Regions from separate parts of the Homo sapiens genome. Here region 1 is linked to region 2. The links are contacts of gene promoters, found by promoter capture Hi-C in human tissues and cell types (Jung and others, 2019). All regions are on one chromosome and are shown on one strand. Each heading gives the region's core, a stretch centred on a gene start or on the middle of the fragment in contact. The rest is flanking DNA. Distances are from core to core; before and after follow the strand shown. Region 1 overlaps BCAT2 (branched chain amino acid transaminase 2). Region 2 holds the start of CA11 (carbonic anhydrase 11).

The links. Contacts are between HindIII fragments. The study calls those that stand out against the background at their distance.
Region 1: a fragment that was not itself captured here is called in contact with the fragment with the promoter of CA11 in region 2 in 1 of the 25 tissues and cell types used here (adrenal gland).

Annotation. Positions count from the first base shown.
Region 1 is chr19:48,792,927-48,799,943 of GRCh38, reverse strand. BCAT2 (branched chain amino acid transaminase 2) reads left to right here. Exons shown (of 11, transcript NM_001190.4): 6 at 106-269; 7 at 2,611-2,753; 8 at 2,922-3,007; 9 at 3,226-3,366; 10 at 3,442-3,516; 11 at 4,480-4,880. The coding sequence ends at 4,518. It also overlaps the pseudogene RNU6-317P. Among named protein-coding and RNA genes, the nearest start is that of BCAT2, 15 kb to the left of the region's middle. RefSeq lists enhancers at 159-767, 768-1,376, 3,189-3,824, 4,422-4,601, 4,642-4,711 and 1 more. The HindIII fragment of the contact is 3,051 bases long and covers 2,285-5,335 here.
Region 2 is chr19:48,640,948-48,647,620 of GRCh38, reverse strand. It overlaps CA11 (carbonic anhydrase 11), which reads left to right and starts at 1,434. Exons shown (of 9, transcript NM_001217.5): 1 at 1,434-2,055; 2 at 2,144-2,218; 3 at 3,052-3,194. The coding sequence starts at 1,989. It also overlaps the pseudogene SEC1P. RefSeq lists silencers at 816-1,225, 1,256-1,445 and enhancers at 1,403-2,103, 2,104-2,804, 2,805-3,506. The HindIII fragment of the contact is 19,792 bases long and covers 1-6,673 here.

The DNA.
Region 1 (7,017 bases), core at 2,561-5,060, 150 kb before region 2:
GGGTTGGATTCTGCAGGGCAGGGGTGGGGTCCTGGAGGCCTGGGCCTGGGGACGGGAAGGGACTGGGGGCCTGGACTCCTGACGCTGTCCCTTTGCCCGTCGCAGCCCTCGCTGGGTGTCAGCCAGCCCACGCGCGCGCTCCTGTTCGTCATTCTCTGCCCAGTGGGTGCCTACTTCCCTGGAGGCTCCGTGACCCCGGTCTCCCTCCTGGCCGACCCAGCCTTCATCCGGGCCTGGGTGGGCGGGGTCGGCAACTACAAGTTAGGTGGGTAAGTAGCACCCCCATCCCCAGAACGACTGGCGCACTGGGCGTTGGAGACACAGGGACCAGCGTGCGTGCTTTCGGCCATGCCTCTGGATGTCACATGAAGGTGACATCATCAGCACCGTGCAGGGCTCAGTGCTAAGTGACCTCCCTGGTCCCTGAAAACAAACCATGGAAGGAAGGAGGAGGGGATTATTTTTCAGATGGACAAAAAGGCTCACAGATGGGAAGGCATTGGGTGGAGGTCAGTGGGGAAACCAGGACTGGTCCCTGGAAGCCTCCAGGAGTGAAGCTTACACTCAGCTCATTGGCTTCTCGCCCCAGAAGCCTCCCCTGATCCCCCAGGCTGGGCTGCGCTCCCCATACCCAGCTCCCACAGTCGTTTGAGCCTCCAAAGCCCCTCACCCCCGTGTGGACTTTCTGTGTAAATCTGTCTCCCAGTGGCCTCAGCTCAGCAGGGCAGGAAGGAGACAGCTGGGTCTCCTGGGCAACCAAGGCAGAGGGTGGGCACTGGCGTGTTGGGACAGGAATGTGGCCCCAGCTGGGGGTGCATTCAGGTCCTTTCAGCCACATCCTGTGAGGTCTCCTGAGGGCCAGGCCCTGTGCTGGCAGAAGCTGGGGACACAGATGAGTCAGCCCCGAGCCCTGCTCTCCTGGGTCTCCCAGGCTGGTGGGAGCCCCAGTATTCGGAGCTGCATGTTCTCTGGTGAGGTGACCCAGGGCATTGTGAAAGCCTTCACAGAGGCCAGAGGCGGTGGCTCACGCCTGTAATCCCAGCACTTTGGGAGGCTGAGGCGGGCAGATCACGAGGTCAGGAGATCGAGACCATCCTGATTAACACAGTGAAACCCCATCTCTACTAAAAATACAAAAAAAAAAAAAAAAAATTAGCCGGGCTTGGTGGCGGGCGCCTGTAGTCGCAGCTACTCAGGAGGCTGAGGCAGGACAATGGCGAGAACCCAGGAGACAGAGCTTGCAGTGAGCCGAGATCGCGCCACTGCACTCCAGCCTGGGCGACAGAGCGAAACTCCATCTCAAAAAAAAAAAAGAAAGGTTTCGCAGAGGAGGCGACCCTTCAACTAGGTCTGACGAGGAGGGAGGAGGGGGTTTCCTGGGTACAAAAGTCAGCAAACTGTTTCCAGTCCTGGGAACCATGTGTACAGGGACAGAAGGAATAGGATCACAGAAGATGTTCAGGTTACAAAAATAAGTTTGGGTTTTGAAAAATGCTTAGCAAGTATTCATTAGACCCAGGCAGGCCTGGAATGCCGGAAGGAGGCTAGGGTCTTGTCCTGGGGCACTGGGGAGCCATGGGAGGCTTGTTAGCAGCTGAGGGGAGAGGCTATCTCTGGGAGAGAGACTCAGAAAGTCATCCAGGTAGCCCAGTTCACTGGGGGAGTCCAGGGAAGGTCCAGCACCCAGCCTGGAGGTCTGGAAACACCTCTCGAGGAGGTGACAACAGAAACGGTTTTGGAGCCAGGCGCGGTAGCTCACGCTTGTAATCCCAGCACTTTGGGAGGCCGAGGTAGGCGGATCACTTGAGGTCAGGAGTTTGAGACCAGCCTGGCCAACATGGTGAAACCCCGTCTCTACTAAAAATATAAAAAGTAAGGCCGGGCGCTGTGGCTCACTCTTGTAATCCCAGCACTTTGGGGGGCTGAGGCGGGCATATAAATATAAATGTGAATATAAATTAGCCGGACATGGTGCTGCATGCCCCAGTTACTCCAGTTACTCAGGAGGCTGAGGCACGAGAATCGCTTGGACCCGAGAGGCGGAGGTTGCAGTGAGCTGAGATCGCACCACTGCACTCTAGCCTCAGCCTGGGCGACAGAGCAAGACTCTGTCTCAAAAAAAAAAAAAAGAAAAAAAGAAAAAAAGAAATGGTTTTGAATGACAGCTGAGGATTTGGTCAGTATGAAATGGGTGAGGGCTGGGCGCGGTGGCTCACGCCTGTAATCCCAGCACTTTGGGAGGCTGAGGCGGGCAGATCACCAGGTCAAGAGAGGCTGAGGCAGGAGAATCTCTTGAACCTGGGAGGCGGAGGTTGCAGTGAGCCAAGATCGCACCACTGCACTCCAGCCTGGGTGACAGAGCGAGACTCCGTCTTAAAAAAAAAAGAAAAGAAAAGAAAGAAAAGTGGGAAGAGACAGGAGAGAGGGGACATAACCATTTAGGGTCCTGATGCCAAATGAAAAGTCAAGGATTCCATCTCAGGGGAACTGGGGAGCCCTGTGAGAGCTGTGAGCAGGGAGACGGGAGAGAGTAGGATGAGCCTCCTCTGGGGCTGGGCTGGGGAAGGATGGGGCTCCCTTGCCCCACCCAACCAGACTGCCCTCCACCAGGAATTATGGGCCCACCGTGTTAGTGCAACAGGAGGCACTCAAGCGGGGCTGTGAACAGGTCCTCTGGCTGTATGGGCCCGACCACCAGCTCACCGAGGTGGGAACCATGAACATCTTTGTCTACTGGACCCACGAAGATGGGGGTAAGCCCACCCATGACCCAGCCCGAACCCTGGTGGAAGTGGGTGGCACCATCATTCCTGGCAGGTTACAGGCCCCAGGGATTCTGGGATGGGGGAAGGGGGTGGCTCTTAAGACGGCGGTGCTAGGGGGTGAGAGGTAACATCTTCCACCCCTTACACCTGCCCTAGTGCTGGAGCTGGTGACGCCCCCGCTGAATGGTGTTATCCTGCCTGGAGTGGTCAGACAGAGTCTACTGGACATGGCTCAGACCTGGGTGAGGACATGGCATCTTCTGGTGATGGGCGCCATGTGCCAGGGGCCAGGGCATCAGAGGGCTGGGACTGGGGCACACTGGCATGTCTCTGCCCCTTCTCCTGGGTCTGTCTCTCCCGTTGGGCCTCTGTCTTTCTCACTATCCTCAGGGAGGGAGAGGTGGAGGTCTGCAGCAGGGCAACCCTCTGGGGACACGTGTCTCTGCCAACTGCCCTGCAGGGTGAGTTCCGGGTGGTGGAGCGCACGATCACCATGAAGCAGTTGCTGCGGGCCCTGGAGGAGGGCCGCGTGCGGGAAGTCTTTGGCTCGGGCACCGCTTGCCAGGTCTGCCCAGTGCACCGAATCCTGTACAAAGACAGGGTGAGGCGGGGCTGCCATTGTGGGTGGGAGGGAAGGAGGGGAGGGGCTTGGTCCTCACCGCACCTTCTGTCCCAGAACCTCCACATTCCCACCATGGAAAATGGGCCTGAGCTGATCCTCCGCTTCCAGAAGGAGCTGAAGGAGATCCAGGTGAGCTGCAGGGAGCTGGGGAATGGGCTGGGAGCTTGTTCCCTGGAGAAGTTGGTGTCCCATGAGCCCCTGGACTAACAGCCAGCCTCCTTCAGTAGTACCAGGAACAGATAATGGCCTTTCTTATTGAGGCCCTGGAGAGTGGGCTTTCTGTGCTGCTCTGTGGCCTGGAAAACCCCTTGGGGCTAAATCACCCTTTCCTGGGAGCTCCCGGAGCCCTGGATATGTCTTCAGCTTTGGAAACCCCTTCCTGTGATCCTCTGCGGCTCCTGGGTGCCCTGGTAGGAGAAACCCCCTCTCCGTGGGCCTCTGAGGCCCCTGGGTGCCCTGGTGGGAGAAACTCCCTCCCTGTGATCCTCTGCTGCCCCGGGTGCCCTGGTGGGAGAAAGGCCCTTTCCATGAATCACTGAGACCTTAGCCAGCCCTCTGGCCATCTCAGAGGTTGGCCTCCCAAGATTCCCTGGAGCCCTGGGCTATCCCTTTGGCCGGAGAAAGCTTCCTCCCATGAGCCTCTGGACCTTGGCCCCTCTCTGGCACCAGACTGTTTAATCCCATAAATCTCTGGGGGTATTCCCATCTTCTGGGCCAAGATCTCTTTCCCAAGAATCTCTGGGCTCCTTTCCCAGACCTAGAGCTACATTTCTGTAAACTTTTGTGCATCAGGACCTAGAACTACACATCCTCTGACTATCTGGGCTTTCTGAGCTGAAAGTGACTTTTTCCAAGAGCCTTAGAGGCCTGGCCATAATTCCTGTCTTCAGAACTACATCTCCCGGAAGCCTCTGCGCCGCCTTAGCCTTGATTCCCCGTTCCCATCATTGTTGGGGCCCTCTGGGAAGTGGACTACATTTCCCGTGAGCCGCTGGGGCACAGCTCCGTAGGCACTCGGCCTGGAACACCCCAGGGCCTACTGGGAGTTGTAGTGCAGCTTCCACCTCACGCACTGCCTCCGTTGTTCCGCAGTACGGAATCAGAGCCCACGAGTGGATGTTCCCGGTGTGAAGCTGCAGGCTGTGCTCCAGATCCACCGACCCGTAGCATCTCGTCACGCCAGCACTCGCCTCCCTACCAATGACTCACCTGAAGTGCAATACGAAATAAAAGGCCAGCGGGCGGCGTCTGGGTCTCTGGCGCCCCCATGTGGTTGCGACACTCCCAAAGCCGTAAGGGCCGACCCAGGCATCTTGGCCCCCAGCCCCTCGTCGCGGGTTCAGGTCCGCCCATTACTCCTTGTCGTGCGGTCAAGGATACACCTTGGCCCCGATTCCGGATCTCTCCGTTCTCAGGCCAGACCCCTGGTGCTGCCGTTGATTTTTTTTTCTCTGTCTTTGCTGCAATTTTGAAATAAAATGCCAAAGAACACACATTGTCGGGCTTCTTCAGTGACGTGACTCTGGGGCTTTAACCCAGGAATCCTGCTTCCTCAGCCCATTTTATTCTGAAGGACTCAGTCATCCGAGCCCCCAGTGTTCTGATGGTTTCTCCAACCTGGGGGAGCATTTCATGTCTCCGGCACTGAACTTACTATCTGCCCCCCACCAACCAGCTCCTCCCCTACTTTCCCGTCTCCCAGTCTCTAGGCCGGACCCCTAGGTGCTGCATCCTTTTCTCTCAAAGCCCACGAGGCCCCGATCCCTGTTCCTCCTGCCCCCGACTCTGCTGTCCGTTCCCCCGCCTCTTTGTCCCCTAGGCCCTGGCCTCAGCTCAGCTGCTGTCTTCTACTGGCACCCTTGTTCCAGCCTGCAGTCTGCTACCTGGCCCAAAGGGTCTTTTCTACACCCAGACGTGGCCCAGTGCCCTCAGCCAGGACTGTAGTCACGGGACCCTAGTGGGTGTGGAGTGAGGCACGATACTCTCACCTGCTGGAGGGATTAAACGTGGAAGAGTTTAGACTGGGTATGGTGACTCCCACCTGCAATTCCAGCACTGTGGGAGGCTGAGGCGGGAGGATTGCTTGAGACCAGGCTGGGCAACACAGTGAGATCCCATCTGTACAGAAAATACAGAAAATTAACCAGGTGAGGTGGCATGTGAGTATAGTCCCAGCTACTCCAGAGGCTGAGGTGGGAGGATTGCCTGAGCCCGGGAGGTTGAGGCTGCAGTGAGCTGTGATTGTGCCACTACACTCCAGCCTGGGTGACAGAGCAAGACTGTCTTGAAAAAAAGGCCAGGCACTGTGGCTCATGCCCGTAATCCCAGCACTTTGGGAGGCCAAGGTGGGCGGATCACCTGAAGTCAGGAGTTCAAGAGCAGCCTGGCCAACATGGTGAAACCCCATCTCTACTAAAAATACAAAAAAACCAGCTGGACGTGGTGGAGGGTGCCTGTAATCCCATCTACTTGAGAGGCTGAGGCAGGAGAATCGCTTGAACCTAGGAGGCAGAGGTTGCAGTGAGCAGAGATCATGCCACTGCACTCCAACACACACACACACACACACACACACACACAGACACACACACACACTTTATTTTATTTTTTTCTTGAGACAGAGTCTCGCTCTGTCGCTCAGGCTGGAGTGCAGTGGCATGATCTCGACTCACTGCAACCTCTGCCTCCTGGGTTCAAGCGATTGTCCTGCCTCAGCCTCCCCAGTAGCTGGGACTACAGGCGTGCACTACCATGCCCAGCTAATTTTTGTATTTTTAGTAAAGATGGGAGTTTTGCCATGTTGGCCAGGCTGGTCTCAAACTGCTGACCTCAGGTGATCCACCTGCCTCGGCCTCTCAACATGCTGGGATGATAGGCATGAGCTACCCAACCTGGCCCACATATACCTTTTCATATTATAATTGTTATGTGGAGGTGTAGAGAAAGCCAGGCATTCGGATGGACGAGGCACATCCTCTTGCAGATTCGAATTCACAGACTGCCTTGGTTATCGGCTGGCTGTGTGACCTCAGGTGTGGTGCTTAATCTCCTTGATCCAATTTGCTGGAGGGACACCCTGTGGGACTATTCTGGCAAACATGATCTGTGGCCTATCCAGCAGCCATCGGCGTTGACACTGAAAGTCCAGTTTTTTACGGCGTCAGCAGACCCATTACCACATCCTCTCATTTCCCATTGTCAATGATCCCTCAAGGAAAGGTTAGAGGCCAAGGGGATCCTAAGGGAAACTTGCCTGGAGGCCTCTGGGAAGCTTTCTTCCCTTGATAAAACAATCCATGTGCTCACTTCGGCAGCACATATACTAAAATTGGAATGATACAGAGAAGACTAGGATGGCCCCTGTGCGAGGATGACACACAAATTCGCAAAGCATTCCATATTTTTTTGTCCTCAGCAAACTAACACAGGAACAGAAAACCAAACACCGGTCTGAGCACAGTGGCTCACGCCTATAATCCCAGCACTTTCGGAGGCCGAGGTGGGCAGATCACTTGAGGTCTGGAGTTCGAGACCAGCCTGGCCAACATGGTGAAACCCCATTTCTACTAAAAATATGAAAATGAGCCAGGCATGGTGGCACACACCTGTACTCTCAGTTACTCGGGAGGC
Region 2 (6,673 bases), core at 185-2,684:
ATCCCTTGAGCCCAGGGGTTCCGGACCAGCCTGGGCATCATAGCAAGACTACATCTCTACAAAAAATAATTTTTAAAAATTAGCCTGGCATGGTGGCATGTGCCTGTAGTCCCAACTATTTGGGAGGCTGAGGTGGAAGGAGTGTTTAAGCCCAGGAGGTCGAGGCTGGATCAAGCCATGATCGCACCACTGCTCTCCAGCCTGGGTGACATTGCAAGGCTTGTCTCAAAAAAGAAAATAAAAGAAGACAATGAGCAGTTTCACTACCATTAGACGGGGTGAAAAATAATAAATAACAACAACAACAGTAATATGTGGTCTCTCTGAGGCTGGGTATGGTTGTTCATGCCTGTAATCTCAATGCTTTGGGAGGCCAAGGTGGGAGGATCCCTTGAGGACAGGAGTTTGAGACTAGCCTGAGCAACATAGCATGACCCCATCTCTTCTCCCCAAATACAAAAATGTGGTGTCTCTCTCTGTCTTTGGATCGCTCTTTCTCTCTTTTTGTCTCTCCCCACCCCATCTGCTGCTTGGTCTCTGAGTTTCTGTCTATCTCTAAGTGTGTGTCTCTATGTCTCCATGTCTGTCTCGCTGCGTCTCTGTATCTCCTTTTCTGCCTCTATCTGTATCTCTCTCATTCATTCCTTCCTCTCTCCCTCCCCCTCCTCCTCTCCCTCCTCCCCCTCCTCTCCCTCCCCCTCCTCTCCCTCCTCCCCCTCCTCCTTCACCTCCTCCCCCTCCTCCTCACTCCTGCCTGGCGGTTTGTTCTTGCCTCTCTAACCTTCTGTCCCTCCGCCCTTCCTCTCCGTATCCATCTCAGGCTCCCTTCCCCTCCCCAGCCTACGCAGATGTGGGTCCTCACCTCCCGCTCTCCGCCTCTGCCCTCCCGGCTCCTCCTCCCCGCCCCTCTCTCCCTCGCCAGGTCTCTGCCTCCCCCTCCAGGCGAGCAGCCCTCACTGCACTTCAGGCTCCTAGGGGATCCCCCGGCCCCGTTAAGGCAGCCCCAGGCAGAGACCCAGTGGAGCCCTGGGGCGGGGAAGGGGGGCTGCGGGCGCTGGGGCGGCTCCAACCTGGGTCCCAGCGAGCAGGGGGACCCTGCATCCGCCAAGGCCGGCGGCCCCCAGCATGGAGACTTCCGAAGCCACTCCCAGCTCCACCTTAAGCGCCCCCCCTTCCCCTTGCTGCGGAGGATGGAAACAGCCTGCTCCCGGCCCCAGGTGTCCCGGCCACCCCCGCCCGCGTGGCCCCAGCGCGGCTGGGAGCCGAGGACCAGCCCCCTACCTCCTTCCGAATCCTGCCCTTTCGCACATCCCACCCCAAGCCAACCCGAGGAGTGTTTGCCGCTATGAGATCACCTGCTCCCCCAGCCCAACAACAAAATTAAATAACACCACGGGAGAGGAGAGAGGGAGGGGGAGGAGGGAGGAAGGGACAAGAGAGAAGAGAGACTGAAACAGGGAGAAGAGGCAGGAGAGGAGGAGGTGGGGAGAGCACGAAGCTGGAGGCCGACACTGAGGGAGGGCGGGAGGAGGTGAAGAAGGAGAGAGGGGAGAAGAGGCAGGAGCTGGAAAGGAGAGAGGGAGGAGGAGGAGGAGATGCGGGATGGAGACCTGGAGTTAGGTGGCTTGGGAGAGCTTAATGAAAAGAGAACGGAGAGGAGGTGTGGGTTAGGAACCAAGAGGTAGCCCTGGGGGCAGCAGAAGGCTGAGAGGAGTAGGAAGATCAGGAGCTAGAGGGAGACTGGAGGGTTCCGGGAAAAGAGCAGAGGAAAGAGGAAAGACACAGAGAGACGGGAGAGAGAAGAAGAGTGGGTTTGAAGGGCGGATCTCAGTCCCTGGCTGCTTTGGCATTTGGGGAACTGGGACTCCCTGTGGGGAGGAGAGGAAAGCTGGAAGTCCTGGAGGGACAGGGTCCCAGAAGGAGGGGACAGAGGAGCTGAGAGAGGGGGGCAGGGCGTTGGGCAGGGGTCCCTCGGAGGCCTCCTGGGGATGGGGGCTGCAGCTCGTCTGAGCGCCCCTCGAGCGCTGGTACTCTGGGCTGCACTGGGGGCAGCAGGTAAGACCTGGGGTTCCCGGGAGGAGCCCCCGAGGGAGGGTGGAGGTGGGGATGCCAAGGAGAGGGATTCAGGCTGCTCTCTTCCCAGCTCACATCGGACCAGCACCTGACCCCGAGGACTGGTGGAGCTACAAGGATAATCTCCAGGGAAACTTCGTGCCAGGTGCCGCCAAGGCGGGGACCCAGGAGTCCGGCCCTCCCGGCGCCTCCTTCTTCAGACTCAGGAACCTGGGTTCCCAGCTCCCTCCTCCCCCCCAGGACCAGGAGTCCCAGCCCCCTCCTCTGTCCCTCAGGAGTCGGGCCAGCTTCTGAACCCCAGGGGCTCACCATGGGACATTATACATGCGCATTTCAAGTAGTGAGTGGGAGTGAGTGGAAGGAAAGTGTGGGGGTGGAGATTATGTGTGTGTTTGCCGGGAGAGGAAGGTCCTGGCTCCTGCTAGGAACCAGAGGCTGGGTGGCCCCGTCCCCCACCTTGTCCAGCCTTCTCTTGCAGCTCCTCTCCCCAACACATTAATAATAATCCAGCTGTGGGATAAGAGCGATTAAAAAAAAGAACTACAACTCCCACGGGGCTCTGGGGCAGGTAGGCAGCAGAGGGGTAGGCTGGTAGCACTGGGGCCTGCTGGGAGTTGTAGTTCCATCTACAGTGGCTTAAGATGGGTTTGATCGGCTGGGCGCGGTGGCTCACGCTTGAAATCCCAGCACTTTAGGAGGCCGAGGTGGGTGGATTACCTGTGGTCAGGAGTTCAAGACCAGCCTGGCCAACTTGGTGAAACCCGTCTCTGCTAAACTTGGAAACTATTCCAAGATTCTTCTAGGACCCAGAATTCTGGATCTGAGCCCAGTCCTCCCTCAGACCCAGGAGTCTAGGTCCCTAGCCCCTCCTCCCCTGGGATCTGGGAGTCCAGACCACAGCCCACTCAGCAGATACCAGCCCTGGGATCCAGTCTCTATTTCTGACTCCTTGTCCTCCTACTCCGACCCCACCCCCAGGGCCTCCTTTCTGGGGCCTGGTGAATGCAGCGTGGAGTCTGTGTGCTGTGGGGAAGCGGCAGAGCCCCGTGGATGTGGAGCTGAAGAGGGTTCTTTATGACCCCTTTCTGCCCCCATTAAGGCTCAGCACTGGAGGAGAGAAGGTAAGGGGCTTGGAGGGAGGAGCTATTGAACCCACTGGGGATGGGCATGAATAGAGGCTGGGGAATGGGGTGCTGAGGTAGGAGAGCAGCCTTGGGGGAGGAGGGGACACCCAGTGGGTGGAGAGGAGGCTGCTTACACTGTAAAATGGATCACCCATTCTTCCCATCCCAAGCATGGTCCCCTAGTCTCCCCATCTCTGCAGAAGCAATGAAAAGCAGAACATTTCCTGTGCCAGGCAGATTTAAAACCTTGATAAGCCTCTCATCTCATAACCACCCCACAAAATGGGTACAATTATTATTATTGTTATTATTATTATTATTATTTTGAGATGGAGTTTTGCTCTTGTTGCCCAGGCTGGAGTGCAATGATGTGATCTCAGCTCACTGCAACCTCCACCTCCCAGGTTCAAGCGATTCTCCTGCCCCAGCCTCCCGAGTAGTTGGGATTACAGGCATGCGCACCATCACGCCCAGCTAATTTTTTGTATTTTTAGCAGAGATGGGTTTTCTCCATTTTGGTCAGGCTGGTCTTGAACTCCTGACCTCAGGTGATCCACCTGCCTCGGCCTCCCAAAGTGCTAGGATTACAGGCATGAGCCACTGCGTCCAGCCAAAATGGGTACAATTATTAACCTTATTATATACATGCAGAAACTGACACACAGAGGTTAAGTTACTTGCCTAGGATCACACAGAGAGCCAGCACTGGCATTCAAACCAAGCAGCGTAGCATGAATGCTGGGACCTGCTTTATAGTACCATGCTGGGAACCATACTTTTTTTTTTTTTTTTTGGAATTGGGATCTCACTCTGTGACCCAGGCTGGAGTGCAGTGGCCCAGTCATAGCTCACTGTAACCTCAAATTCCTGGGCCCAAGTGATCTTCCTACCTCAGCCTCAAAAATAGCTAGGACATGCCTGGGTGTGGTGGTTCATGCCTGTAACCCCAGCACTTCGGGAGGCCGAGGTGGGTGGATCACGAGGTTAGGAGTTCGAGATCAGCCTGGCCAACATGGTGAAACCCCATCTCTACTAAAAATACAAAAATTAGCCGGGTGTGGTGGCATGTGCCTGTAATCCCAGCTACTTGAGAGGCTGAGGCAGGAGAATTGCTTGAACCCGGGAGGCGGAGGTTGCAGTGAGCTGACATCACGCCACTGGACTCCAGCCTGGGTGACAGAACAAGACTCCATCTCAGAAAGAAATAAATACAGAGAGAGAGGGAGAGAAAAGAAAGAGAGAGAGCGAGAAAGAAAGAGAGAAAGAGAGAAGGAAGGAAGGAAGGGAAGGAAGGAAAGGAAGGAAGAAGCCAGGACTGCAGGCACATGCCAGTATGCTTGGCTAACTTTTTAAGTTTTTTGTAGAGGTGGGGTCTCACTATGTTGTCCAGGCTGATGTCGAACTCCTGGGTTCAAGTGATCCTCCTTGCCTTGGCTTCCCAAGGTACTGGAATTACAGCTGTGATCCACCGCGCCTGGCCAATACCATTTCTTATAAGAGCCGGCACTGCCTTTCATTTAGCTGCCCCAGCCAAAAGCCTCAAAGCCATTCCCCATCCTATCCTCTCTCCCTCATGTCCATTTCCAATCCATGTTCTTTCTAGCCTTGCTGCTAAATATTATTCAAATCCTTTCACCTATCACGCCCTCTACTGCCCCCAGTCTCATGTAGGCACCATCATCTCCCACCTGGACTGGTGGCGTACCCTCCTCACTGGCCTGCCTCTCAACTTCCTGCAATCTATTCACCCCACAGCTAGAGAGATGTTTAAAACACAAATAAGATCATATCACTCCTGCTCAAAATCCTCCTATTAGGATATGTAATAACAGCAAACATTTACATAGCACTTACTATATGTTTGGCATTCTGGCAAATGTGTTATATATATGCAGTTTATTTATTTTTATTTTATTTTATTTTTTGAGTCGGAGTCTCGCTCTGTCGCCCAGGCTGGAGTGTAATGGAATGATCTCAGATCACTGCAACCTCCGCCTCCTAGGATCAAGCGATTCTCCTGCCTCAGCCTCCCAAGTAGCTGGGATTACAGGCGCCCACCGCCACACCCAGCTGGTTTTTGTATTTTTAGTAGAGATGGGGTTTCACCATGTTGGCCAGGCTGGTCTCAAACTCCTGACCTCTGGTGATCTGCCCACCTCAGCTTCCCGAAGTGCTGGGATTACAGGCGTGAGCCACCACATCCAGCCTATATATGCAGTTTATTTAAATAAAAATACAAAACTCTCTACTGTTTTCCACAAGGTCCTGCACCATTCAGCCCCCATAACCTCTCTCTCCTCTGTTCACTGGACTTTGATGAAGTCTCTTTGCTGTTACTCAAACAGGCCACCTCAGGGCCTTTGCACTTGCTGTTCCCTCTTCTTGGAATGCCCTTCTCTTTGTTCTTTTGCAAGTCACCCCTGCTTATCCTTCAGGTCCCCATTAAAATGTCACCTTTGGCCAGGTGCAGTGCTTCATGCGTGTAATTCCAGTATTTTTCAGAGGCTAAGGCAGGATGATGACTTGAGCCCAGGAATTTAAGACCAGCCTGGGCAACATAGGGAGAACCCTCTCTACCAAAAAAAAAAAAAAAAAAAAAAGAAAATTGAAAATTAGTTGGGCATGGTGGTATGTGACTGTGGTCCCAGCTACTTGAGAGGCTGAGGCAGGAGGATCGTTTGAGCCCAAGAGTTTGAGGCTGCAGTGAGCTGTGATGGCACCACTGCAATCTAGCCTGGGTGCCAGAATGAGACTTTGTCTCAAAATAATAAATAAATAAAAATAAAATGTCACCTTTGCAGGGAAGCTTTTCCTGACATCCCCCATCTAAGCTGAGCTCCCCATGACACCTCAGAGCTCCCAGTTCCCCCAAACATGAGCTCAGGATGTAGTTAATTAAGCAGTTACTTATGTGATTCACAATTGTCTGTCTTGCCTTCATTAGAACATAAACTCCATAAGGCCCAGGACTTTTGTCTACTTGTTTATTGCTCTATTCTTGCATCCACGGCACATAGCACCAGCTCAGTCAATATTTGTTAATCAAACAAATTCACCAATATTGGGCACCAACTTACAAACTGGCACAGAGCCTGGAAAGTGGTCAGTGTTCAAATTATGTTGAATGATTAAATTACTGTTGGAGGCCAGGCACGGTGGCTCACGCCTGTAACCCCAGCACTTTGGGAGGCCAAGGTGGGCAGAACACCTGAGGTCAGGAGTTTGAGACCAGCCTGGCCAACACAGTGAAACCCTGTCTCTACTAAAAATACAAAAATTGGCTGGGTGTGGTGGCACACACCTGTAGTCCCAGCTACTCGGGAGCCTGAGGGAGGAGAATCGCTTGAACCCAGGAGTCAGAGGTTGCAGTGAGGCGAGATCTCACCACTGCACTCCAGCCTCGGCAGCAGAGTGAGATTCTATTTAAAAAAAAAAAAAACAAAAACAAAAAGCCGGGCGCGGTGGCTCATGCCTGT